7 separate regions of the Homo sapiens genome follow, and regions 1, 2, 3, 4, 6 and 7 are each linked to region 5. The links are contacts of gene promoters, found by promoter capture Hi-C in blood cells and fetal thymus (Javierre and others, 2016). All regions are on one chromosome and are shown on one strand. Each heading gives the region's core, a stretch centred on a gene start or on the middle of the fragment in contact. The rest is flanking DNA. Distances are from core to core; before and after follow the strand shown.

Evidence for each region. Contacts are between HindIII fragments. The CHiCAGO score rates a contact against its expected background, and 5 or more counts as called.
Region 1: a fragment that was not itself captured here is called in contact with the fragment with the promoter of PCDHB7 in region 5 in 6 of 17 cell types (M1 macrophages, M2 macrophages, M0 macrophages and 3 more); the score reaches 9.2 in M1 macrophages.
Region 2: a contact is called between a fragment that was not itself captured here and the fragment with the promoter of PCDHB7 in region 5, in 7 of 17 cell types (naive CD4 T cells, naive CD8 T cells, naive B cells and 4 more). The highest score is 7.5, in naive CD4 T cells.
Region 3: a contact is called between the fragment with the promoter of PCDHA5 here and the fragment with the promoter of PCDHB7 in region 5, in 9 of 17 cell types (neutrophils, M0 macrophages, monocytes and 6 more). The highest score is 13.8, in neutrophils.
Region 4: a contact is called between the fragment with the promoter of PCDHA9 here and the fragment with the promoter of PCDHB7 in region 5, in 7 of 17 cell types (neutrophils, M0 macrophages, M2 macrophages and 4 more). The highest score is 11.6, in neutrophils.
Region 6: a fragment that was not itself captured here is called in contact with the fragment with the promoter of PCDHB7 in region 5 in 8 of 17 cell types (M1 macrophages, M2 macrophages, monocytes and 5 more); the score reaches 11.6 in M1 macrophages.
Region 7: a contact is called between a fragment that was not itself captured here and the fragment with the promoter of PCDHB7 in region 5, in 5 of 17 cell types (naive CD4 T cells, naive CD8 T cells, non-activated CD4 T cells and 2 more). The highest score is 6.3, in naive CD4 T cells.

What each region holds. Positions count from the first base shown.
Region 1 is chr5:140,753,384-140,756,599 of GRCh38, reverse strand. The region is part of intron 3 of LOC105378198 (a long non-coding RNA gene); the gene reads right to left. Among named protein-coding and RNA genes, the nearest start is that of PCDHA1, 31 kb to the left of the region's middle. The HindIII fragment of the contact is 5,694 bases long and covers 1-3,216 here.
Region 2 is chr5:141,521,359-141,524,490 of GRCh38, reverse strand. It overlaps DIAPH1 (diaphanous related formin 1), which reads left to right. Exons shown (of 28, transcript NM_005219.5): 27 at 262-348. Among named protein-coding and RNA genes, the nearest start is that of PCDHGC5, 34 kb to the right of the region's middle. RefSeq lists an enhancer at 2,975-3,132. The HindIII fragment of the contact is 1,191 bases long and covers 1,083-2,273 here.
Region 3 is chr5:140,819,506-140,823,032 of GRCh38, reverse strand. It overlaps PCDHA5 (protocadherin alpha 5), which reads right to left and starts at 1,420. Exons shown (of 4, transcript NM_018908.3): 1 at 1-1,420. The coding sequence starts at 1,257. The region is part of intron 1 of PCDHA1 (protocadherin alpha 1); the gene reads right to left. All of the region lies in intron 1 of PCDHA2 (protocadherin alpha 2), which reads right to left. All of the region lies in intron 1 of PCDHA3 (protocadherin alpha 3), which reads right to left. It also overlaps PCDHA4 and PCDHA@. The HindIII fragment of the contact is 13,774 bases long and covers 1-3,527 here.
Region 4 is chr5:140,846,684-140,849,829 of GRCh38, reverse strand. PCDHA9 (protocadherin alpha 9) reads right to left here and starts at 1,448. Exons shown (of 4, transcript NM_031857.2): 1 at 1-1,448. The coding sequence starts at 1,334. All of the region lies in intron 1 of PCDHA1 (protocadherin alpha 1), which reads right to left. All of the region lies in intron 1 of PCDHA2 (protocadherin alpha 2), which reads right to left. All of the region lies in intron 1 of PCDHA3 (protocadherin alpha 3), which reads right to left. It also overlaps PCDHA4, PCDHA5, PCDHA6, PCDHA7, PCDHA8 and PCDHA@. The HindIII fragment of the contact is 21,410 bases long and covers 1-2,166 here.
Region 5 is chr5:141,171,058-141,174,706 of GRCh38, reverse strand. It overlaps PCDHB7 (protocadherin beta 7), which reads right to left and starts at 2,063. Exons shown (of 1, transcript NM_018940.4): 1 at 1-2,063. The coding sequence starts at 1,871. It also overlaps PCDHB@. RefSeq lists an enhancer at 1-93. The HindIII fragment of the contact is 10,030 bases long and covers 1-3,649 here.
Region 6 is chr5:140,779,438-140,782,655 of GRCh38, reverse strand. No RefSeq gene overlaps it. Among named protein-coding and RNA genes, the nearest start is that of PCDHA1, 5.1 kb to the left of the region's middle. The HindIII fragment of the contact is 6,118 bases long and covers 1-3,218 here.
Region 7 is chr5:141,541,631-141,544,955 of GRCh38, reverse strand. All of the region lies in intron 18 of DIAPH1 (diaphanous related formin 1), which reads left to right. Among named protein-coding and RNA genes, the nearest start is that of DIAPH1-AS1, 15 kb to the left of the region's middle. The HindIII fragment of the contact is 6,929 bases long and covers 1-3,325 here.

The sequences.
Region 1 (3,216 bases), core at 546-3,045, 420 kb after region 5:
AAGACTTACAGTGACAAAGAAAACCCAAGTTATCTGTTTCTTTTATTACCACCTTGGCCTCATTTCCTCCTAATAATTATTATCTCTCTGATCCAAGCACACAGACGTCTCTGCTACTCCTTGAACACAATAAGCATTCTTCTTCCTTAGGGCATTTGCTGTAGTTTTTCCCTCTGCCTTAAATGTTTTACCCCAAGAAAACAGCTTGGCTAACTCCCTCACATCCTTCAAGTTAGATATAATTTCTTAATGAAGTCTATCCTGATTATTCTATATAGCTCTTTAATATTGTGACATTCATCCCATCTCTCACAGATTTCTGATTCTCTTAATCTGTTCTACTCTTTCATTATGCCAAAGCACATTTTATCTTCACCTTAATGAATATAATTTCATGCCACTGCACTTCAGCCTGGGCGACAGAGCAAGACTCTGTCTCAAAAAAAAAAAAAAAAAAGAATTTCCATGCAAATGGAGACTGTAAGAGAGCAAGAATAGCTGTACTTACATCAGATAAAATAAACTTTAAGTCAAAAACTCTAAAAAGAGACAATGAAAGTCATTATATAATAATAAAAGTTCAATTCAGCAAGAGGATATAACAATTGTAAATACAAAAGCATCCAATATTGGAACACCTAAATATATAAAGCGAATATTAATAGATCTAAAGGGAGAACAAGACTGCAATACAATGATATTAGGGGGATTTGCTATCCATTTTCAGCAATGGACAGGTCATCCAGACAGAAAATCAACAAAGAAACTTCAGATTTAAACTGCACTGTAGACCAAATGGACCTAGCAGACATTTACAGAACATTCCATCCAACAGCTGCAGAATACACATTCTTCTCAACTGTACATAAAATATTTAACAGAATAGATAATATGTTAGGCCACAAAACAAGCCTTGACAAATTTTAGATTGAAATCATATCAATTGTCTCTTCTGACCACAATGATATAAAACTAAAAATCAATAACAGAAGGAACTTCAGAAACTTTATACATTCATAGAGAGTAAATATGCTCCTGAAAAACCAATGAGTCAATGAAGAAATTAAAAGACATTTAAATATCCCTTTTGGACAAATAGAAATGGAAACACAATGCACCAAAACTTATGGGATACAGCAAAAGCAGTTCTCAGAGAAAAGTTTATAGCTATAAACACCTACATTCAAAAAGAAGAAAGGTTTCAAATAAAGAATCCAACATTATACCTCAAGGAACTGGAAATACAAGAACAAACTAAATCTAAAATTAGGAGAAGGAAGTAATAAAGGTCATAATTTAGGTGAGATGAGGTGGCTCACGCCTGTAATCCCAGCACTTTGGGAGGCTGAGGTATATGGATGACTTGAGCACAGGAGTTCAAGACCAGCCTGGGCAACATGGTGAAACACCATCTCTTCCAAAAATGAAAAAAAAAAATAGCCAGGCGTGGTGGCAGGTGCCTGTGGTTTCAGCTGCTCAAGAGGCTGAGGTGGGAGGAACTCTTGAGCCTGGGTAGTAGACGTTGCAGTGAGCCAACATCACACCACTGCATTCCAGCCTGGGTGACAGAGTGAGGCCTCGTCTAAAAAATATCAGCATATAAATAAATGAAATAGAGGCTTGAAAAAAATACAAAAGAGCAACAAAATTAAGAGTTGGTGTTTTGAGAAAAAATAAAACCAGCCAACAGTTAGCTAAACTACCTAAGGAAAATAGAGAGAAGACAAACAAAACAATAATGAAAAAGGAGACATTATAACTGATACCACAGAAATAAAAAGGATCATAAGACATTATTATACAATTTTACACCAACAAATGGAATAACCTAGAAGAAACAGATAAATTCCTGGACACATACAACCTACTAAGATTGAATTATGAAGTTATAAAAAAATTTCAAGAGACCAATAATGAGTAAGGACATCGAATCAGTAATAAAAAGTCTCCCATCAAAGAAAAGCCCAATACCTGGTAGTTTCACTACTGAATTCTACCAACATTTAAAGAAGAATAAAAACCGGGCGCGGCGGCTCATGCCTGTAATCCCAGCACTTTGGGAGTCCAAGGCGGGTGGATCACGAGGTCAGGAAATCGAGACCATCCTGGCTAACACGGTGAGATCCCGTCTCTACTAAAAATACAAAAAATTAGCCGGGCGTGATGGCGGGCGCCTGTAGTCCCCGCTACTCGGGAGGCTGAGGCAGGAGAACGGCGTGAACCTGGGAGGCTGAGCTTGCAGTGAGCCGAGATCGCACCACTGCACTCCAGCCTGGGAGATAGTGCAAGACTCTGTCCCAAAAAAAAAAAAAAAAAAAAAGAAGAAGAATACCAATTATTCTCAAAATATTTCAAAATACTAAAGAGGAGAGAATACATTCAAACTCATTCTGCGAGGCCAGCATTACTCCGATATCAAACCTGAAAAAAAGCCCCCAATTACTCCAGGGGAAGGAGCAAGTTGAACTGGAAAGGAGCAACCTGCCCTCACCACATGCCTCTGGAATCTGGGCAGGAGGAGACCCCTCAACCACCATGGACACTTGAGTTGGCAGGGAGAGCTGCTTAGAGAAGTGGTAGGGGAAGCACTCCAGCTGGTGCAGAGCCCAGAGGGTTTGTTGTGGTAATGTCTGTAGTGAAGCATAATCAGGGATGCCCATCCCCCTAGGCTTGATTTGCTCCCATAAGAGACTTTAGCCCTAGGGGAACTGTTGGACATGAGCTCTCAGGGCAGTCTTGCCCACCAAATGAGGCCAGTCTGACGTGAGCACCCCTTTGCCTGCTGACCTCTCGCAGGGCCCCAGCCTGGCTGCACCTGCTTGCAATGCAGCCTCGAGTGCCCTCGGGGGGCTGCATCATAGCTCCTGCGCTGGCAGACTGCACCAGCCCACCCACTCCCTCCCCTCACTCCAGGCCCACAACCACCCCTATATTGCTGGAGTATATGTGCATGGGTGGATTTTACCTTCCCTGTCCTACCAGCATGTGTGTGCCCATGAACCCTCTGCTGCCACTGCTGCTGGGGTAAGTGCAGTCCACTCCACCACCTCCCCCATCATACTTCCACTGTAGTCAGAGTGCAGCCCAGCCACCACCAGCACCCTGCCCCAGCACCAACATTGTCACCAGAGTGAAACTAGGCAGAGAAGAGTGGACCCTCCACTGCCCTAAGTGACCACCTCCACCTACATGAAAACACACAGAAGGTGCACACAG
Region 2 (3,132 bases), core at 429-2,928, 350 kb before region 5:
AGGATGGCATTGCGGGAAAATATCCCAAGGTCTGCATTGGATAATAGGCAATGAGATCTTTTGTTTTAACCATTTTTTAGCAGATACAAGTAAACATGAGCGTGTGAGACTTAAGGCTGAGCTCTCTTTGCCTCTTCTTAGCTGCCAGCTGCTGTGGGAGAGGGGAAATCAAGCAATAGCCATTCATTTTGTGTGGGGCTTGATATTTGCCATGCTGCTCTGGCTGAAGAGTTCACATCTCCATCTTGTTCTTTATAACAGAGGGCGATGAGACAGGTGTGATGGACAGTCTTCTAGAAGCCCTGCAGTCAGGGGCAGCATTCCGACGGAAGAGAGGGCCCCGTCAAGGTAAGTAAGCACATGGAGCTCATCCTGGGTGTCGAAGGGGGTGAGGGCTCTCTACTCCTGCCAGTCTGCGGCTAAAGAGCAAATAATGATGCTCTAAGCATCTTTTTAGTCCCTGCATCCAGAACGGATTATCTAGTCCTCTTCTTCCCATGTTACAGAGTAGCGACTTAGAAAACTGGGGTTTAAGGGACTGGCAATAAATCAGTTACATTGGATTATGCCGCATTTCTCCCCACTCTTGAAGCAGATATTTGGAACAAAGGAACTGAGCTGCAGGACCCAGGGATTTGAGTTGGCATTTGTGTGTATGAACAAAAGTTGATCTAAATACAAAATGTATATTAGATATAGATTGAAATTCAAAGAAAAAATAAGTCAGAGTCCTTACTCTGGACTTCACAAGCAGAAGACATACGTAGAGAGAACTAATAATAGAAAGTATAAAATTTTGTAGACAGGTTTAGGCATCATTATTCCCAGATAGAAAAATATAGAGGAGCATCTCAGTTGAAGGATTATGCCGTGTCTGAAAACTACCTTTTCCTTGAGTGCAGTTAGCCTCTATTGCCCTTGCCTTCCCCATCACTGCCCTGCAATCTCCTTTCATGTCCTTTGGAAGATCTAAGTGGATTACATTGAGCTAGAGATTCTAAAAAGAATTATGGAGCTAGGACAAGTGATCCAGGCATTAGTATGGGAAAAGATTAATGAATAAGTTCCCTTTCAGGGAAGCTTACAGTGGCCAAGAGACTAATTCAAAGGAAGGTATAGGCAAGTCTGCCCCTCATGTGGAGTTGACCTGCACTATCGTGTCTAGTGAAGGTCTTTTGAGGCTAGGAGTGGTGGCTTCTTTACTAATTTGAAGAGTGGGAATTACAAAAAAAGGCATCATTAGAGGTTTCTACTTCAGAGGGACTTAAATCTATGTTCCCTGTTTCCTGGCTGTTGCATTGTGTAGGCCCATTTGATAGTTATACTTTGAGATTATTGTAAACAGAAGGAGTTAACACAGCTTGCTTTGGCCAGTGCTTAGCTATTAATACAGTGGTATCTGTAGGGCCTGTAGTACCTGCCACAGCCTGGAAAGGGGGACCTTAGAGCATGCTAGCCTATGTAAACTCAGTATTCTGGCCCAACAACAGCCATCACTGTGAGTTTCATCTGTAATGGCTGGCTGCCCATTTCTACCTATACTCTGAATAACCAGAGTGATACTCCCTTCTGAGGGTTCTCTTGTATGACTTCAGAATGTTCCCCAAACTGAAAGCTCCCGAGTCAAAGTTCTTACCCATTTTCTGGCATTCTCTGAGTACAGGCTTTCTAAAGCGTGGGGAGAAGTGGATATGAAGAGCTGAGTACTCTCTGGGCTCGAGCATTTAGTCTTATAGATAGGTGTTTGCAAGGAGAGTACAGCTAGAGGTACTATTACTCCTGTATTTTGTCTTTATAGGTTCTTACAACATTATTTCCTACTGACCACACAAGGTGATGTGGCCTTAACATTAAGCATTTCTAGCCTTACAAAAATACATTGCATCTTATTGTTTTTTTTTTTTTTTTTTTTGACCCCGTCGGCTAAGTGCCTGCATCAGAATTTTGGTGGGGAATTCCCTTTTAAGCCTCTTCCTGTGGAACTATACTAGAATCCCAGATGCTTCCTGTCCACAGGTAGCCAGACATCAGTGGCTTCCCTCTGCTGGGGAAGCCCCATTCTTCACTTCTTTCCAAGTAGAAAATCAGAACTCACAGGTGGAGGAAGGAGGAATTTTGTTGGAAACTAACCTTCCAGCAGAGGACCTGAATTAGTCAAAGTACTCTCTCCCATGCAAGAGGGAATAGGAGGAGACTTATACTAGGAGATACTAAATTGGAAAGTAGGTGAAATGACAATTACATATATTTTAAGTGGCTCTAGCCTATAAGCTTATCTTTCTAGGCTCTGGGTCCACTAAATACACTTGAATATATCTGGGAGAATCTCAAGGGAGACATTTGTAGTTATTCTGGTAACTCTTTAGACCCTGGTGCATTCACATCATGTAAAGTGATGTGATGCGGTCTCACATTAAACAGGAGGATAGCCATCAGAGTAGATTACAAAGAACACAGGGCTAGGTAGGGATCAAAAGACCTAAAGTCACATCTAGTTCTGATGCTGTCTGTGTTATCCTAAGCAAGTCACTTAATGTTTCTGGGACTCAGTTCCTCAGGTATAAAATGAGAGTTGGACTAGAATGAATGGTCTGCAGGGTCCCTTCCAGCTCTAATATTTTTTTTGTGCAGTGACAACAGGATTAAGAGGAGAGAGAGGCTGGACTTAGATGGCCCCATTCTCAAAATACAAAGGCTCCACTGGCTATAGGTTTCTCTATGCAGCTACTGAATTTGGCTGTTCCACCCCTTGCCTGGCTGTCTCTGACTATTCCTCTTGGCTGATTGCTTTGAGCTAAAAAAACAGAGGCACTGTGGAACATATCTGCCTCATAGCCCTCCTTTTTTCCAGAGAGGCAGCTGTCCCTATTCAAAGACACTAGCTTTTTCCCTAGAATTTAAAGGAATGTTAAATTCTTCCGGTCTCTGGAGACCTGGGGGAGTGACCAGTATACAAAGACTCATTGAGGAGTTGGAAGAGGAGAGTTACTATCAGGCTTGGTTCATTAAAAGCAACATGTAAACTCCTGTGATCCGCAGGGTGTGGGAGAACAATGGTTGGAGTGTCAAGGGGAAGAATCCATGTGATTGTATTACAGCTGCTATTTCAGGCCCATGATTGAGTCAGCTTGT
Region 3 (3,527 bases), core at 171-2,670, 350 kb after region 5:
GACCGACACGCTCTCGCGGTCCAGGGCGCTGTCCAGCACCAACGAGTAGTAATTCTTGAAGGTGGACACCAGCTTGAAGGGAACGTGGGGCATTAGGGAGCAGGTCACCTGCCCGTTGGCACCTGAGTCACGGTCAGACACGCTGATCAGAGCAATGACCGTGCTGAGTGGAGCGTCCTCTTTGACAGGCAGGAAAAGGGTGGTTATGGCCATCTCTGGGGTATTATCATTCACATCCAGGAGTTTCACTACTACTTTACAGTGTCCTGATAATGGGAATGTACTTTTATCCATGGCATCAATATTAATTTCATATGAGTTATAGTCTTCATAATCCAGTTCCCCGTTAACTTTTATTTCACCAGTATTAGAATTAATTATAAATTTGGACTTTACATCGTCAAGAACAAGATTACTAAAGAAATACACTATTTCCTTATTGATGCCCTCATCTGCATCTGAGGCGTTCAGTTTAATAACTAATGTCCCACTTGGTGCATTTTCCAACAATCTGACATTATAAATGGATTTATCAAATTCTGGGGCGTTATCATTAGCATCCAATACATTGATCAACAACTGAACTGTACCTGTTAGTTCGGGTTTTCCTCCATCAGTTGCAATCACTAATAAACGGTGTTCTTGTGTTTCTTCTCTATCTAAGGATTTCCTCAAAACCAGCTCTAAAAAGTTCGTTTCTTCTTCATTTGTTTTAACATCTAAGTCAAAATATTCGTTTGGATTTAACCTGTATCTCAATTGTGCATTTGCTCCAATATCCAAATCCGACGCGCCCTCTAGCGGAAACCGCGAATCTGGCATTCTTGACTCTAAAATGAATAATCTTTGTTCTTGTCTGGAGAACCTGGGCGGATTGTCATTGATGTCCTTCACTGCCACCTCCACATGGAAAACCTGCAGCGGCCTGTCCACGATCACCTCCAGGTGGATGCTGCACTCCGCCCTCCGCCGGCACAGCTCCTCCCGGTCGATCCGAGAATTCACAAACAAAATGCCATTCTGCAGATTTACCTCCAGAAGGTCCCCGCGGCCCTTGGACGCCACCCGGAACAGGCGCGGCACCAGCTCCGCCAGCTCCAGCCCTAGGTCCTGCGCGATGCGGCCAACGAAGGTTCCGTGTTTGGCTTCCTCCGGGATCGAGTAGTGGAGCTGGCCGCTCCCTGCCTTCCAGTAGGCAAGGAGAAGCCAGAGCAGCAGGAGCCGGGATCCCAGACTTCCTCTCCGGGAATATACCATCTCAATCTCGTTCCAATTATGAGCTTTCTATTGCATCACCACACAATGTATTTTGTAAATTCAATTCCCAATTAACTATATATTTTTTATATTATCGCCTTTCTGAGCTTCTTGGCACAGCCAAAAATGGAAGGTTCTTTTCCTTTCTGTCTAAGGAAAATCTACTCACTGTATTCCTTTGAGGCTGGGAAGGGAGAAAAACCTTCCGGTGTCCAGCGACATCATGTGGATGAAAGGGTAAGTGTTTTATTTTGTTTTGCTTTATTTAGCTTATATTCGTCAATATTTCTCAAGTATTCTCACTTTCAATGACATGATTCTTATTCTTTAAATCACTTATCTCTAGTCAAAATATATCATTAAACTCTATCTTAAAATGCGTCAATATAAGTGCGTCATTAAAATATTACAGAAAAATACATCTAAAGTCATGAAACCCCAATCCTTACTAGAGAAATTTGTGCTGGTGTATTTTATATAGGGAGGAGTTTATATATTTCCAAACTGATAAAAATAACTTTTAAGAGTTAAAGTTTTGACTTTTCTCATCTCTATTTAAACATATCTAATTAAAACTTTTGAGTTTTTTCTGTATTAGTCAATGGAATGTTTGTATGCTATCTCCGTGTTACTCATAAAACAAATTTTTATTCCAATTTCACTGTTTAATAGTGACATTTTGTTGATGTTATTTTCAAAAACAACTAAAACTATTTTAATGGCATTCTTACCTGAGTTTCTTCTCGGAGTTCTAATTTTCAAATCGATGAAAACCTATTTCTTTATCTATAACACCTATCTACTTTTTGTATTGACTCAAAAACTGTAATGGGGATATTTCAGCTTTCTAGAAATCAAAAGCATAATAGAACGACTTTGGTAAATCGTCTTTGCACTATTTTCAAATTAGAAGCATCTAGATAGCATTTCTTCAAGTTGCTATTACTGATAAAGCAATTATTAAAAATTGTAAAATACATACCTTTGTACTTACATAACAAGTCAAAATCCTAATATTGTCTATATGACATACTATTTCACAAAATGTTTAGGTTCCAGTAAATATAATCATGTTGAAAAGAATATCATTTTATTAACCAGGCTATCTTTATATTAGTTTAATTACTTTTTAATCTCCCAACTGTTTACTGGATGGTATGATTTGAACACGACCTAGAAAATTTAGTAAACTTCACTTAATAAATATGGGCAAAAGAAAATATCACCAAGTTTTCTATTGAAGAAATAGCTAACATTCTGCTTGTATATATACTCCATAAAATTCCTTAAATATTACAAAATATCCCTTACCTGTGAAGACAAGAGGGACCAAGAGATTAGCAATTCTATTGTTGGATACTTTTACATTTAAAATATAGCTTGATAAGAAAAAAGAAATTACCAGAAAATGCAAAGTCAGAGGAAATTCACTTGATTTCTGGAATTCAAACTTGTAAAGAAACAAGATATTGTCATAGAATTGTTTCTGATACAATCTTTAAAGATATATTTACCAGTTCCCTTATAAGATTTTTACTATCTCTATTATCATGACTTTTCACTAATATTTGGATCGTTGAAACACAAATCAATTTCCCAGACTATTTGCCTAATAGTTTTCATACTGATAATTTTGAAATATTTTAATACACAATGGTTAAAAACATAAGAAAATGATAATAAATATTTAGAAAACAGCATTAGCTGATGTTAGCCACTTTCTATTATATAACAGTAAATAATGTAAAACTACAAAGCTATGGAATAAATTATAGTAGAATTTTATACAAAATACACAAAGATAACCTTTGAAAAAAGTAAATATTAAGTATTTAAAAGGCAAATTAACAATGTAGTATTAACAATGTGTACATTGTAATCTGCAGAGTATTATGATAAATACTGAGTATTTTAAAAGATATACTCAATGGAGAAAAAGTCATCAACAATATCAGTTCACATGCTCCTCTCAGTCTGGAAAAAATATCTCATGTACTTATATAGATATTTCAGGAGGAAACAAGACTCTTGACTTTTGATTCACTTTCATATCTGTTAAATTATATTTACTTTTTAAATTATCACTTGCATTTGTGCTACAGTGATCAACTCTTATTTTGAATATTCCTTTCTCAGTAACTATAGATTATCCAATCTGAATTTCATGGGAGACTCCACAGGAAAAGAACATTTTAAAAAATCTTCTTCTAAGCTATTTTCTTCAATCAAATGTTACAGATTATTTTCTTGACTGATCCAGTTAACCTCTC
Region 4 (3,146 bases), core at 199-2,698, 320 kb after region 5:
ACCTCCACAGACACCCTGGCCGTGGCCCACAGTGAAGGCGAGCCCCCGTCCCGCGCGGTAACCACCAGCTCGTAGGCGGACACACTCTCGCGGTCCAGAGCTCTGTCCAGCACCAACGAGTAGTAATTCTTGTAGGTGGACACCAGCTTGAAGGGGACGTGGGGCGTCAGGGAGCAGGTAACCTGCCCGTTGGCATCTGCGTCTAGGTCGATCACACTAATCAGGGCAATAACTGTCCCCAGTTGTGCGTCCTCTTTTACAGGAACCGAGAGCGTTTTGATAGTCAACTGTGGAGCATTGTCATTTACATCCACAACTTCCACAAGAAGTGTACAATGACCAGCCAGGGGTGGGAAGCCTTTATCGACAGCCTCGACTGGGATCTTGTGTGCTCTACTTTCTTCAAAATCCATATGTCCTATCACTGTGATTGCCCCACTTAAGGGGTCCATGTGGAACTTGGATTTTATATCTGGAGAAACATCACTGGAGAAGGAGTAAATAATATCCCCATTCAAGCCTTCGTCTAAATCTGAGGCATTGGGGTGAATCACCAGCGTTCCGATAGAAACGTTTTCTGGTAATTTCACCGTATACAGGGTTCTGTCGAACACTGGGGCATTGTCATTGTTGTCCAGTACCGTGATGAGTAATTGAACGGTGCCAGTCAGCTCGGGTTTGCCTCCATCGGTGGCCGTGAGCAATAAATGAAGCTCCGGAGTTTCTTCTCTGTCTAAAAGTTTCCGTAATACAAGTCCAAGAGGTTTTACCTGCTGGTTGCTGGTTGGCACGTCCAGGAAGAAATACTCATTGGGGCTCAGTCTGTAAGTGAGCAGGGCGTTCTCCCCGATATCTGCATCGGACGCGCCCTCTAGTGGAAACCGAGAGTCAAGCGGCCTGGATTCCGCGATGAACAGATTCTTTTGTGTCGCTGGGAACACTGGAGGGTTGTCGTTAATGTCCTTCACCTCCACGTCCACATGGAAAACCTGCAGCGGCCTGTCTACGATCACCTCCAGGTGGATGCTGCACTCCGCGCTCCGCCCGCACAGCTCCTCGCGGTCGATCCGAGAATTCACAAACAAAATGCCATTCTGCAGATTTACCTCCAGAAGGTCCCCGCGGCCTTTGGAATCCAACTGGAACAGGCGCGGCACCAGCTCCGCCAGCTCCAGCCCCAGGTCCTGCGCGATGCGGCCCACGAAGGTGCCGTGTTCGGCTTCCTCCGGGACGGAGTAGTGGAGCTGGCCGCTCCCCACCACCCACATTGCGAGGATCAGAAGCGAGAGCAGTAGAGGCTGACCCTCTGGATCTCCTCGACTTGAGTATAACATTTCAAATACTCAGTCTTCTTCTAATTAGTGAAAATTGCCTCCAAATTAGAAGAAATCATCTGATTTCGTCAGTCCCATTCTGCTGTGTTCGCCATCGTTCAGCACAGAGAGAGTGAAAAAGAATTGAGCCTCTTTCCCATGGGAAAAGGGCTGTATTTGTCTGGATTCAGAGAGAACATCGCGGCAAAGAGTGACATCACGTGGCCCAAAGTGTAAGTACATATTTCATGAATAAAAATTTCACAGTTATTCTGCAAAACTTATTTCATTTTCTTAATTTTTTCTTAAGTAATGATTGTTGAAACAGAAGATCCCGTTTCTCTTGCTGGAGCCTTCTTAGCAGACTGACTGCCTCTAAAAGTTTTGTATGACCTTGATTGTGGTTTTCTTATCCCTGAGAAAACTCTCCACTTAAGTTTTAAATAACGACAGAAATGAAGTAACAATTAAAATGATTCCATTGAGCAATCACGAATTTTAAATTACAAAATTCTTTTGTTCTGGAATTCAGAATCTCCCATATGGCTCGAAATAGGATTCTAGTGTAAGAGAAATCCAGGAGTTGCAATCTCTAGTGAATATAGGAGCCCAGAAATCTACTGATGAAAAAGAAACTTAGTCATGTCTGGTAAAAGGAATCAACAAAAAGTAGCAACCAACTGAGGTAGTTTTCTTGAGTAATTCTATGAATTGAAAAGGTATAAAATATTGCAAGAAAAGCGAGAATTGACTTTAAGGTCTTGTGTTGCGTGGGGAGAAAATATATTTTTCTCTTTTGTAGCATTTATACAATCTGTTTCCAGAAATGTGTTGTTTTGATTCTTTCCAAGCTTTATAATCTATGAATAATCTCTTCTTTGTAGTCTCCAATATAGTTTGTGTAATGTTATTACAATATGTTTTAATTTCATTATTGCTCATCCTTAGTACTCGGGGCAATTTCTGTTTTTAAAGCTATGCTTGAGATTCTTTTCCTGACTAAGTTCTACAAAGTTTTGTTGTGAGTTTTACTATCTTATTCCAACGTCCAAGTCGATTAATTAAATCTAGATTTTAGTGTATCTCAAGTCTAAAGGCAAAACCGTGAGTGTTTATTGTGCCATTAATGTTTTTGCATATTTATCTTTTATTTCGTATTTCTACTGATAACAGCCTAAGAGGTGCATTTAACAATTGCTTCTGTCCTTGATTACTGCAGGAGCTTCTGAGTTTGTCTTCCCGTTCAACCTTCTTTCAAAAGTCGTGATTTATTTTGCTCAAGGTAGTTAAATAGCTCCCAATTAATTCTAAAGAGTGGCCAAATTCCTTAATCACTCATGGCCCTTTAGTTTATTACTCAGAAATCAAGAGATCTTCTTACATTGGTTTTCCTGCTTTCATTCTCTGCAGACTGTGTGTTTTAACCAAAGTGGACTTTTCTACTTGTCATATTGATGCTTTCTGTGTCTTCAACTTTCCTTATGTTTTCTCTTTCCAAGAAATGTCTATCATTCTCAATATTCTCCCGGGGGGAACTTACTTATTTTAAAACCACTGAAACACACCATGCCCCTTCAAGTATTTCTTCAAAAATTCAAATAGGAAATGATTGTCTTTCAACTTCAACGTCATTCTGATTTACCTCTTGTACCTGTTACATTATCTTGCCTTGCATTGTGTGACTCATATTCTTTATTTGACCTCAAATTTTAAAGCCAGGGGCTGGGGCTCAGTAATAATTCCTGACATGATGATATGCTGTTAGAGATCTGTAAGGGTCCTATTTAATGTTTAATGAAGACTGGTTATTACAATCTTCTCTACTTGCTAAGA
Region 5 (3,649 bases), core at 814-3,313:
ACCTCGCCATTGTGCGCCCACACGCCGAATAGCCCGGGCTCCGTGGCCTTGAGCAGCTGGTACGACAGCCAGGCGTTCTGGCCCGAGTCGCCGTCCACCGCCACCACCTTGGTCACCAGGTAGCCCGGCTCGGCCGCCCGGGGCAACGGCTCGGTGCAGGGCGCGGAGCTGTTCTGCAGCGGGTACAGCACGAAGGGCGAGTTGTCGTTGGCGTCCAGCACCAGCACGCGCACCAGCGCCTCGCTGCTCAGCGCGGGGGAGCCGCGGTCTGTGGCGCCCACGCGGAACTCGAACGCCTGCAGGGCCTCGTAGTCCAGGGACCTGAGGGCAAACAGGTGGCCGTTGTCCGCGTTGATGGAGACCAGGGAGGCGAGGGGCAGGTGCGGGTCCTGGGACGGCAGCAGGGAGTAGATGACCTGGGCGTTGGTGCCCGAGTCTCTGTCTGTGGCGCTGACACTGCCGATGGGCAGGGCGGGGCTGTTGTTCTCACGGACAAACAGGGTGTAGGAGGTTTGGGTGAAGGCGGGAGCGTTGTCATTGACGTCGGAGACCAGCACGGTTATGTTGTGCTCGGTTTTCAGCCTGGGTGTCCCCAAGTCGGTGACGGTGATGGTGATGTTGTACTCAGTGTTCCTCTCTCGATCCAAAGGTTTCTCTGTTACCAGAGTATAGAAGTTTTCGACAGATGGCTTCAGGATGAAGGGGACATCGTCCTGGATGGAGCACACTGTCTTTCCATTGTTCCCGGAATCTCTGTCTCTAATCCTAAAAACAGCCACGACTGTCTCGGGTGAGTTTTCTGCAATTGGGCTAGTAAGTGAAGACAGGAGCAGCTCGGGTCGATTATCGTTTATATCTGTTACATCAACCACTACAGTGCATTTTCCAGAAAGCCCGCCGCCGTCTTTGGCCTGAATAGTTAATGTGTAAGTTTGAATTGCCTCATAGTCCAATTGCGCTTTAAGATGAAGACTGCCAGATGTTGGATTGATTTGAAACGTTTTGAGAATTCTTTCAGTGGCGTAAGAAAATGCATAGGCTATTTCCCCATTACTTCCGGTATCTAAATCTCTGGCTGACACGGAGACAACCATGGAACCAACGGGGCTATTTTCGGGCACCTGCACCTTGTAGAGCGACCGCACAAAATCAGGGGCGTTGTCATTTACGTCTAGAACCAGAATGCGCACGAGGGCGGTCCCTGATCTTGGAGGAGAGCCGCCGTCTAAAGCGGTGAGGGTTAAACTGAACTCTGGTATCTCTTCCCGATCCAGCACTTGATTCAGCACCAATTCGGGATAGATATTCCCCTCCCCGCTATCATGGACATTAATATGGAAATAGGCATTGGGGCTGATGGTGTAGTTACTCAGGCTGTTGGTTCCAACATCTGAATCCTGTGCACTCTCTAGGAGAAATGCCGCCCCTGGAGTGGTACTTTCTAATATTTTCAAGGAAATCTCTCTGTCTAGAAATACTGGAGCGTGATCATTGATGTCTCTGACCCATAGTTCAGCACGGAAAATCTGAAAAGGTTTTTCCAATAACAACTGGAAAGGCAGCACACAGGGCTCTCTGGGGCCACACAGTTCCTCTCGGTCCAATTTCTCATTTAGAAGTAGATCACCAGTAAGCGAACTGAGCAGTAAAATTTGCATGTTCTGGTCTGAAACAATTCTAGTTCCCCGGGCTCTCAGTTCCCCTACCCCTAACCCTAGGTCTTTTGCCAAGTTGGTAAGAAAGGTGCCTCTCTCGGTTTCCTCCGCCACAAAATACCGAAGCGGTTCGGCGCCAGCCCAAGACATTCCCAGAAATACACAAAGAAATAAGACTTGCCTTTTCTGCACAGCACGCTCCACTCTGGCCTCCATTCTTCTTTGGATCAGTCTTTCAAAATGACTTTCACTCAGCCTCCAGCGGCTCTCACAAATGGCAGCAGCGGAATCCTTTGAAATGAGCTGAATAATAGCAATGTTTGTGGGGAAGGATCCTCATTTTACCCCAATTCCTATTACCACTGTTTCCTTTCCTATGCTTTTCTCTTCAGATTGCCTCTTTGCTCTGGAATCTGTAACATCCTTTCTTTGTGAAATTATTTTTCTCTCTCTCTTTTTAGCCAGCAGCGCCACCTTGCGTTTTGTGGATGTTATTCCCGTTATCAAGACTAGAACAAAAAGATGGCGGATTGAAGGAATTCTGCAACAAGAATGATTTGTCCCCGGTATCTTTGCTGTTTCATTCCATCTTTATCCTCAAATGGTCACAGTAATGCTAGTAAGTAATAGCTGATGTCGTTTTCCCCTGTGATAATCTGGATTCGTAGAAGAATTAATTTATAGTCTTCTTAAATCTAGGAGCATGAAACTAAACTCTGACTCCCCACCGAAATCCTAAGAAAATCTCCTATTTTAAAAATGGATAGTAAAAATATATATGAGAAAATGAAACCTCCTCCTTGAAGTCAACAAATATTGGTTGGGGACATTTTATTTATTTGTAAAGTATTTAACAATAATAATGTGAATATGGCAGAATAATTGACCCTTTTCCCAATTTCTTGTGAATTAAACAATTATTCCACTTTCCAGGTCTTAACTCTTTACCTGTGATATTTCTTGGAACACTTTATGCCTCCCCCAAACCCAACCTTCATCCTTCACCTGATTTAAGTATTACATAAGAAATTATTGTTCCTCTATAATTTCAGTGACTAGAATCTCCAATGTCCAATGAATACTCTTAAAATTAGTAGTAGCAAGTTGGTCAATCTTGCATTTGTGGAAGTGCTTCTAGCATTTCATCTTCAACTATGATGGTTGATCTCAATTTGGGGTAAATATTCCTTTTTTGAATCAATAAAGTTTTCTTTTTATTCTTTCATATTTTGAAGTGATTTTTGATAGCTGTTGAAATAATACATTTATTCTTTAGTTTCTAAATTACTGAGTTATTGATATAAATGACATTTAACCATAATGTATTATTGTTTTAGTGCACAGATAGATATGATGTGTCAACATGGTTTTAGGATTTTTCTAGTTAATGTTGTTTACCTAGTGCGTGTTTGCCTTTTATGGCCTTGGTATTAAACTATTATACTGGCATCATAGAATGTGTTAGGGAGCTTTTTATCTATTTTATACAATAGTTTTAATAATTATATTATTATATGTTTCTACATGCTTAATTCCAGCTTGTCTTTTAAACTGGTTGGGTTTGGTGACTTCACTTGCAGTAGATCAGTGACTACCATTTACATTTTACCTTTGGTTATTAATCTGTTCAGGTTTTGTATTTTTAAGTAACTTGCATTTTATTTTGAAAATCATTTTATCTAGTTTGCAAATTTCTTGGAATTGTTTTCATTGCGTTATTTACCTTTAATTGTATCCCTATTTTTATTAGTGATGTTTAGCATTTTAACTCCTTTTTATTCTTGGTGAGACTTGCAAGAGCTCTACTTTACTGATATTTTGAAATGCATTTTTTTCAAAATAATATATGACCTTGGTCCAAAATTAAATAGCACTAAGAGGCTTGTTCTGCCCTTTTCCTCCTCACTTTTCTTAGTTCCCCTTCTAAGAGGTAGCCATTTTAAAACTCTTTTAGTTATCTCTTCAGTCACTAATCTGTTTTCTGATATATTTTG
Region 6 (3,218 bases), core at 282-2,781, 390 kb after region 5:
AATGCTTCACTGCTTAGAAATTTCTTCCACCTGGCTGGGCGCAGTGGCTTATGCCTGTAATCCCAGCACTTTGGGAAGCCGAGGTGGGTGGATCACGAGGTCAGGAGATCGAGACCATCCTGGCTAACACGGTGAAACTCTGTCTCTACTAAAAAAATACAAAAAAAAAAAATTAGCCAGCCGTGGTGGCAGGCACCTGTAGTCCCAGCTACTCGGGAGGCTGAGACAGAAGAATGTCATGAACCCGGGAGATGGAGCTTGCAGTGAGCCGAGATTGTGCCACTGCACTCCAGCCTGCTAGAGAGCGAGACTCCGCCTTAAAAAAAAAAAAAAAAAAAAAGAAGAAAGAAATTTCTTCCACTGGATATCCTAGGTAATCATACTTAAGTTCAACCCTCCATAAATCCCCAGGACATTGACACAATGCAGCCAAGTTCTTTGCTAAGGCATAACAAGAGTGACCTTTGCTCCAGTTCCCAATAAATTCCTAATTTCCATCTGAGAACTCATCAGCTTGGCCTTTGCTATCCATAGTTCTATCAGCATTTTTGTCACAACCACTTAACAAGTCTCTAAGAAGTTCCAAACTTTCCCTCATCTTCCTGTCTTTTCTGAGACCTCCAGATTCTTCCAATCTCAGCCCGTTACCCAGCTCCAAAGCTGCTTCCACATCTTCAGATATCTTTATAGGAACACCCCAGTCTTTGGTACCAATTTTCTGTATTAGTTCATTTTGTGTTGCTATGAAGTAATATCTGAGACTGGGTAATCTATAAAGAAAGGAGGTTTATTTGCCTCATGGTCCTGCATGCTGTACAGGAAGCAGGGTGTTGGCATCTGCTTCTGGTGAAGGCCTCAGGAAGCTGCCAATCATGGCTGAACACGAAGGGAAAACCAGCATATCACATGATTAGAGAGAGAGCAAGAGGAAAAGGAAGGAGATACCACACTCTTTTAAGCAACTAGATCTTGTGTGAACTCACAGAGTGGGAGCTCACTCACTACCCCAAGAATAGCACCAAGTCATTCATGAGGGATGCACTCTTATGACCCAAACACCTCCTGATAGCCTCAACTCCAACATTAGGCATCACAATTCAACATGAGATTTGAAGAGGACAAATATCCAAACCATATCAGGTGATGTCAGAGGAGGTTTTAGTGGAGAGCCAAGACCTTTCACCATGTGATAACAAGGGCATCTCTACCTTAGTGTCTATGGAGAACACATGGTGGGGCCAAAACTTCCACCCCACCTAGAAGTATAGAGGACATGTCCATGCATTTGTCAATGTAGGCCTATGGGAAACTTGGGCTTTATCTTCAAGTGACAGTAATGAGGTAGTGCCAATGCTCTCTCTGACAGAACAGTGTCAGGAGAAACTAGCTAAAATAGAATAAGTAAGCTCTAGAGTCTCAAAACATGATATAAAAATGTTCAAGTTTCAATATGAAGAAATTACTCATTATTCCAATAACCAAGAAGATAAATTAAATTTAAAAAATAACATACCAATGCCAACAATGAGATGAAAGAGCTGTTAGAATTCTGTGATAAAAATTTTAAAGCAGTCACCATGAAAATGCTTCAATGAGCAATTGCAAATATGCTTGAAACGAATAAAAAAATAGAAACCCTCAGCAATGAAACAGAAAGTCTCAGCAAATAAATAGATGATGAAAAGAACCAAATGAAAATTTTGGAAAAAAGTACAATAACCAAAATAAAAACCCAAATAGAAGAATGGAGTGGTCAAAAAAGAGAATAAGGAAACTAAAAGAAAAATAGAAAATACTGAATCTGGGCAGGGCACAGTGGCTCACACCTGTAATCACAGCACTTTGGGAGGTGAAGGTGGGAGGATTGCTTAAGCCCAGGAGTTTGAGGTTATGGTGCAGTATGATCATGCCACTGCACTCCAGCCAGGGCAACAGAGCATGACCCCATCTCTAAAAACATAACAAATAAGTAAATAAATAAAAATTACGCAATTTGAAAAACAGCAACAAAATAGACTAAAAGAATAAAAAAGAACAGTACCTTGGGGACATGTGGGAACTTAACAAAAGCTCCAACATTCATGTCAGTGGAGTACTGAAAGAAAAGGCAAAGGAGACAAGGCTAAAAATAACTCAAAAAATGGCTAAAAAGTTCCCAAATTTGATAAACAATATAGAGAGGTGAGTGAACTCCAAAGACTCCACACCAAGGCATATAACAGGCAAACTTTTGAAAATAAATGAAAAAGAAAAAATCTTAGGCTAGGTGTAGAGGCTTGTGCCTGTAATTCCAACATTTTGGAAGGCCAAAGTGGGAGGATTTCTTGAGCCCAGGGGTTCAAGACCAACCTAGGCAACATAGTAAGACCTTGTCTCTACAAAAAATAAACAAAATTAGCTGGACATGGTGGCATGCACCTGTACTCTCAGTTACTTAGGAGGGTGAGGTGGGAGGATCACTTGAGCCTGAGAGATCAAGGCTGCAGTGAGCCAACACCATATCACTGCACTCTAGCCTGAGTGACAGAGCAAAACCCTGTCTCAAAAAAAAAAAAGAAAGAAAGAAAAGAAAAGAAAAAGAAAGAGAAAAAAAAACTGACTAAGTGAATCAAAAAAAGACCCAATTACATGCTGCCTATGAGTATCTCACTTGAAATATAAAAATACAGGGAGATTAAAATTAAAAATGTAAAAGCTATATCAACAAGCAAAATGTCTTGAGCATCCCCAAAACCTGTTGCCATGACCTTTGCTTTTTGTGTGTGTTGGGACCTTTGCTTTTGACCAGCCTGCTTTTACTTTGACTAGGCCATTTGCACCTCTTGGTAGCATTGCTTTGATTGTGCTTTGTCTTCAAGATCATACTGCTAAAGCCATGTGTCATCTCCTGTTACAGTTCTCCAAAGAAAGTATTCAGAATCTTGATCCCATTGTTTAAAATTTCCATGGAAACTCAGTTCTCATCTGCAGCTGATCTAGGTGCAATGGTTTTGGACCCATTGAGGAGAAATTTGCTCAACTTTAATTTTTTAGTCAGAAGTGATCAAAGGAAAGCAGAAGCATCTATCAAATAGAGTTCAAGACAAAGATAACTACCGGTATATAGAGGAAAATCAGGCCAGGAGCGGTGGCTCATGCATGTAATCCCAGCAACTTGGGAGGCCAAGGCGGGTGGATCATTTGTGGTCAGGAGTTCAAGACCAGCCCGGCCAACGTGA
Region 7 (3,325 bases), core at 374-2,873, 370 kb before region 5:
GAAACGTTTGCATACAGGATTTTGTCTAGACAAATATATTTTCATTTTGGAGGGATAAACACCTAGGGATGAGATTGTTGGGTCATATGGTATGGTAAATGTATGTTTAACTGTATAAGAAACTGCCAAACTGTTTTCCAAAGTGGCTGTACCATTTTTCATTTCCACTAGCAATGTATGAGAGTTGCAAATGCTTTGCATCCTCACCAACACTTAAGTCTCATAAGTTTTGTTTGGTTTTGTTTTTAGTGATTTTAAAAGGTTAGACTTTGTAGTTTTAATTCCTAATGAGTTTAATTCCTAGTACATAGTTTTCATGACTTACTGATGATATTGAGCAGCTTTCTCTGTGCTTAATTTGCCATCTGTATATCTTCTTTGGTAAAGTGACTTTCCAAATCTGTCCATTTTTTAAAATTGGGTTGTTTTCTTATGATCTAGTCATAACTTTTTAATCTGTGTTGGGTATACTAGTTCTTTATCGGATAAGTGTTTTGCAGATATTTTCTCCCAATCTTGTCTTCTCATTTCTTAATAATGGCTTCAAAAGAACAGAAGTTTTTAATTTTGATGAAGTCTGCTTCATCAATTTTTCTTTTTATGTTTTGTATTCTTTTCTTTCTTTATTTTTATTTTTATTTTTTTGAGATGGAGTCTCACTCTTGTCGCCCAGGCTGGAGTGCAGTGGTGCCATCTCAGCTCACTGCAAGCTCCACTTCCCAGTTTCACACCATTCTCCTGCCTCAGCCTCCCGAGTAGCTGGGACTACAGGTGCCCGCCACCACGCCCGGCTAATTTTTTGTATTTTTACTAGAGACAGGGTTTCACCGTGTTAGCCAGGATGGTCTCGATCTCCTGACCTTGTGATCTGTCTGCCTCAGCCTCCCAAAGTGCTGGGATTACAGGCGTGAGCCACCGCGCCCGGCCGATTTATACTTTTTTTTGTGTCTTACCTGAGAAATTATTACCACCTCAAAGCTGTGAAGATTTTCCCCTGTTCTCTTCTAGATGTTTGGTAGTTTTAGGTTTTCCATTTAGTTCTATGGTCCGTTGTATAGATGCATGCTTGTCTATATGCATGTATACATTTATCTATTGATTGTATTGACATATAATTCACATATGATAAAATTCATCTTTAAAGTATACAATCCCATTTTTTGTGTGTGTACAGATGCTCCTTGACTTACAATAGAATTATGTCCTGAAAGCCATTGTGAGTCGAAAATATTGTTAAGTTGGAATGCATTTAATAACACCTAACTTACCAAACATCTTTCTTAGCCTAGCCTACCTTAAACATGCTCGGGACACTTATATTAGCTTACAATTGGACAAAATAATGTAACGCAAAGCCAGTTTTATAATGTTGATAATGAATTTTGAATCAAAATTTGAAGTACAATTTCTACTGAATGCATATGGCTTTTGCACCATCATAAGCTAAAAAAAATTGTTAGGTTGAATTATCTTAAGTCAGGGATAGTCTGTATTCAGAAAGTTGTCCAGCCATTACCACTATCTAATTCCACAGCATTCTTATCACGCTTACAAGAAACCCTGAATCCACTAGCAGCCACTTCCTACTTCCCATTCCACCCAACTTGGCATCTGCTAATTTACTTACTATCATATGGATTTGCCTGTCATGGACATGTTGTGTCAATATAATTAATAAAGTATGTGCCCTTTGTGTCTGGCTTCTTTCACTAATCATGATGCTTGCAAGGTTCGTGTTGCAGCATGTATTAGCACTTCATTCCTTTTTATGACACCACATTTTGTTTTTTCCATTCATCAGTTGATGGACATTAGGATTGTTTCCACTTTTTGGCTATTATAAATAATGCTACTATGAACATTTTCTTTTTTTTTTTTTGTAACTAAACTGAGATGAAGTACCAACAGCATGACCTTTTACCCTTAAATTCTTCAGCATGCATCTTCTAAATACAAGTTCTATAATCACAGTGTAATTATCACATTTAGAAAATTTATCATTGATAGGATACTGTTATCTAATATACAATCCATATTCAAGTTTCACCAATTGAATTAGTTTTTAAACATGTAAGACAATAAACAATTTTATTGAGATGAAATTCACACAACATAAAATTAACCATTTTAGAGCAAGCAATTTAGTGGCATTTGGTATACTCATAATGTACAACCATCATATCTATCCAGTTCCAAAACATTTTCATCACTCCCAAAAGAAATCCTTTACACTTTAAGCAGTTGCTCCTCATTCCTCCATCCCTTTAGCTCCTAACAATCACCAGTCTATGTGTGTCTCTATAGATTTACCTCTTCTGAATATTTCATATAAGTGAAATAATATATGTGACTTTTGTGTCTGGCTTCTTTCACTTTAGCATGATGTTTTTGAGAATTCTCCACATTGTATCATGTTATCAGTAGCTCATTACTTTTTATGGCAGAATAATATTCCATTGCATATGCCACAGTTTGTTTATGCATTAATTGACAGACAGACAATTTCTTTTTTTTTTTTTTCCCAAGACAGAGTCCCACTCTGTTGCCCAGTCCAGAGTGTAGTGGCACGATCTTGGCTCACTGCAACCTCTGCCTCCTGGGTTCAAGTGATTCTCTTGCCTCAGCCTCCCGAGTAGCTGGGATTACAGGCATGCGCCACCATGCCCAGCTAATTTTTTGTATTTTTAGTAGAAATGGCATTTCACCATGTTGGCCAGGCTGGTCTCGAACTCCTGATCTCATGATCCGCCTGCCAAGGCCTCCCAAACTGCTGGGATTACAGGCATGAGCCACTGCGCCTGGTGGACAGTTAGACTATTTCTACGTTTTGTCTATTTTGAATAGAGCTGCTATGAATGTGCATGTACTTGTATCCATTTGAGTAGCTGTTTTTGGTTTTGGGGGATATATGCCTTAGGAGTGGATTTGCTAGGTCACATGGTGATTCCGTTTAATAGGATGAAAGGATATGTTGAATCTGTAGATCGATTTGGGGAAAATATACATCTTTCAATGTTGAATTTTATGTTCTATGAACATCATGTATCTTTCCATTTATATAGGTCTTTGATTTCTCTCATCAGTGTTTTGTGGTTTTTAGCATACAGTTGGGTCACGTAACTTTTGTTCACATAACTGAAATGTAACTGAAGTGTTTCTTTCTCTTTTCTATTTATTTATTTGCTTTTGTCTTATGGTACTTTATTTCTCTTTCTAGTTGTTCATTTCTTTTTCTTTCTTTCTTCTTTTTCTTTCTTTTTTTTTTTTTTTTGAGACAGAATCTTGCTCTGTTGCCCAGGCTGGAGTGCAGTGGCACAATCTTGGC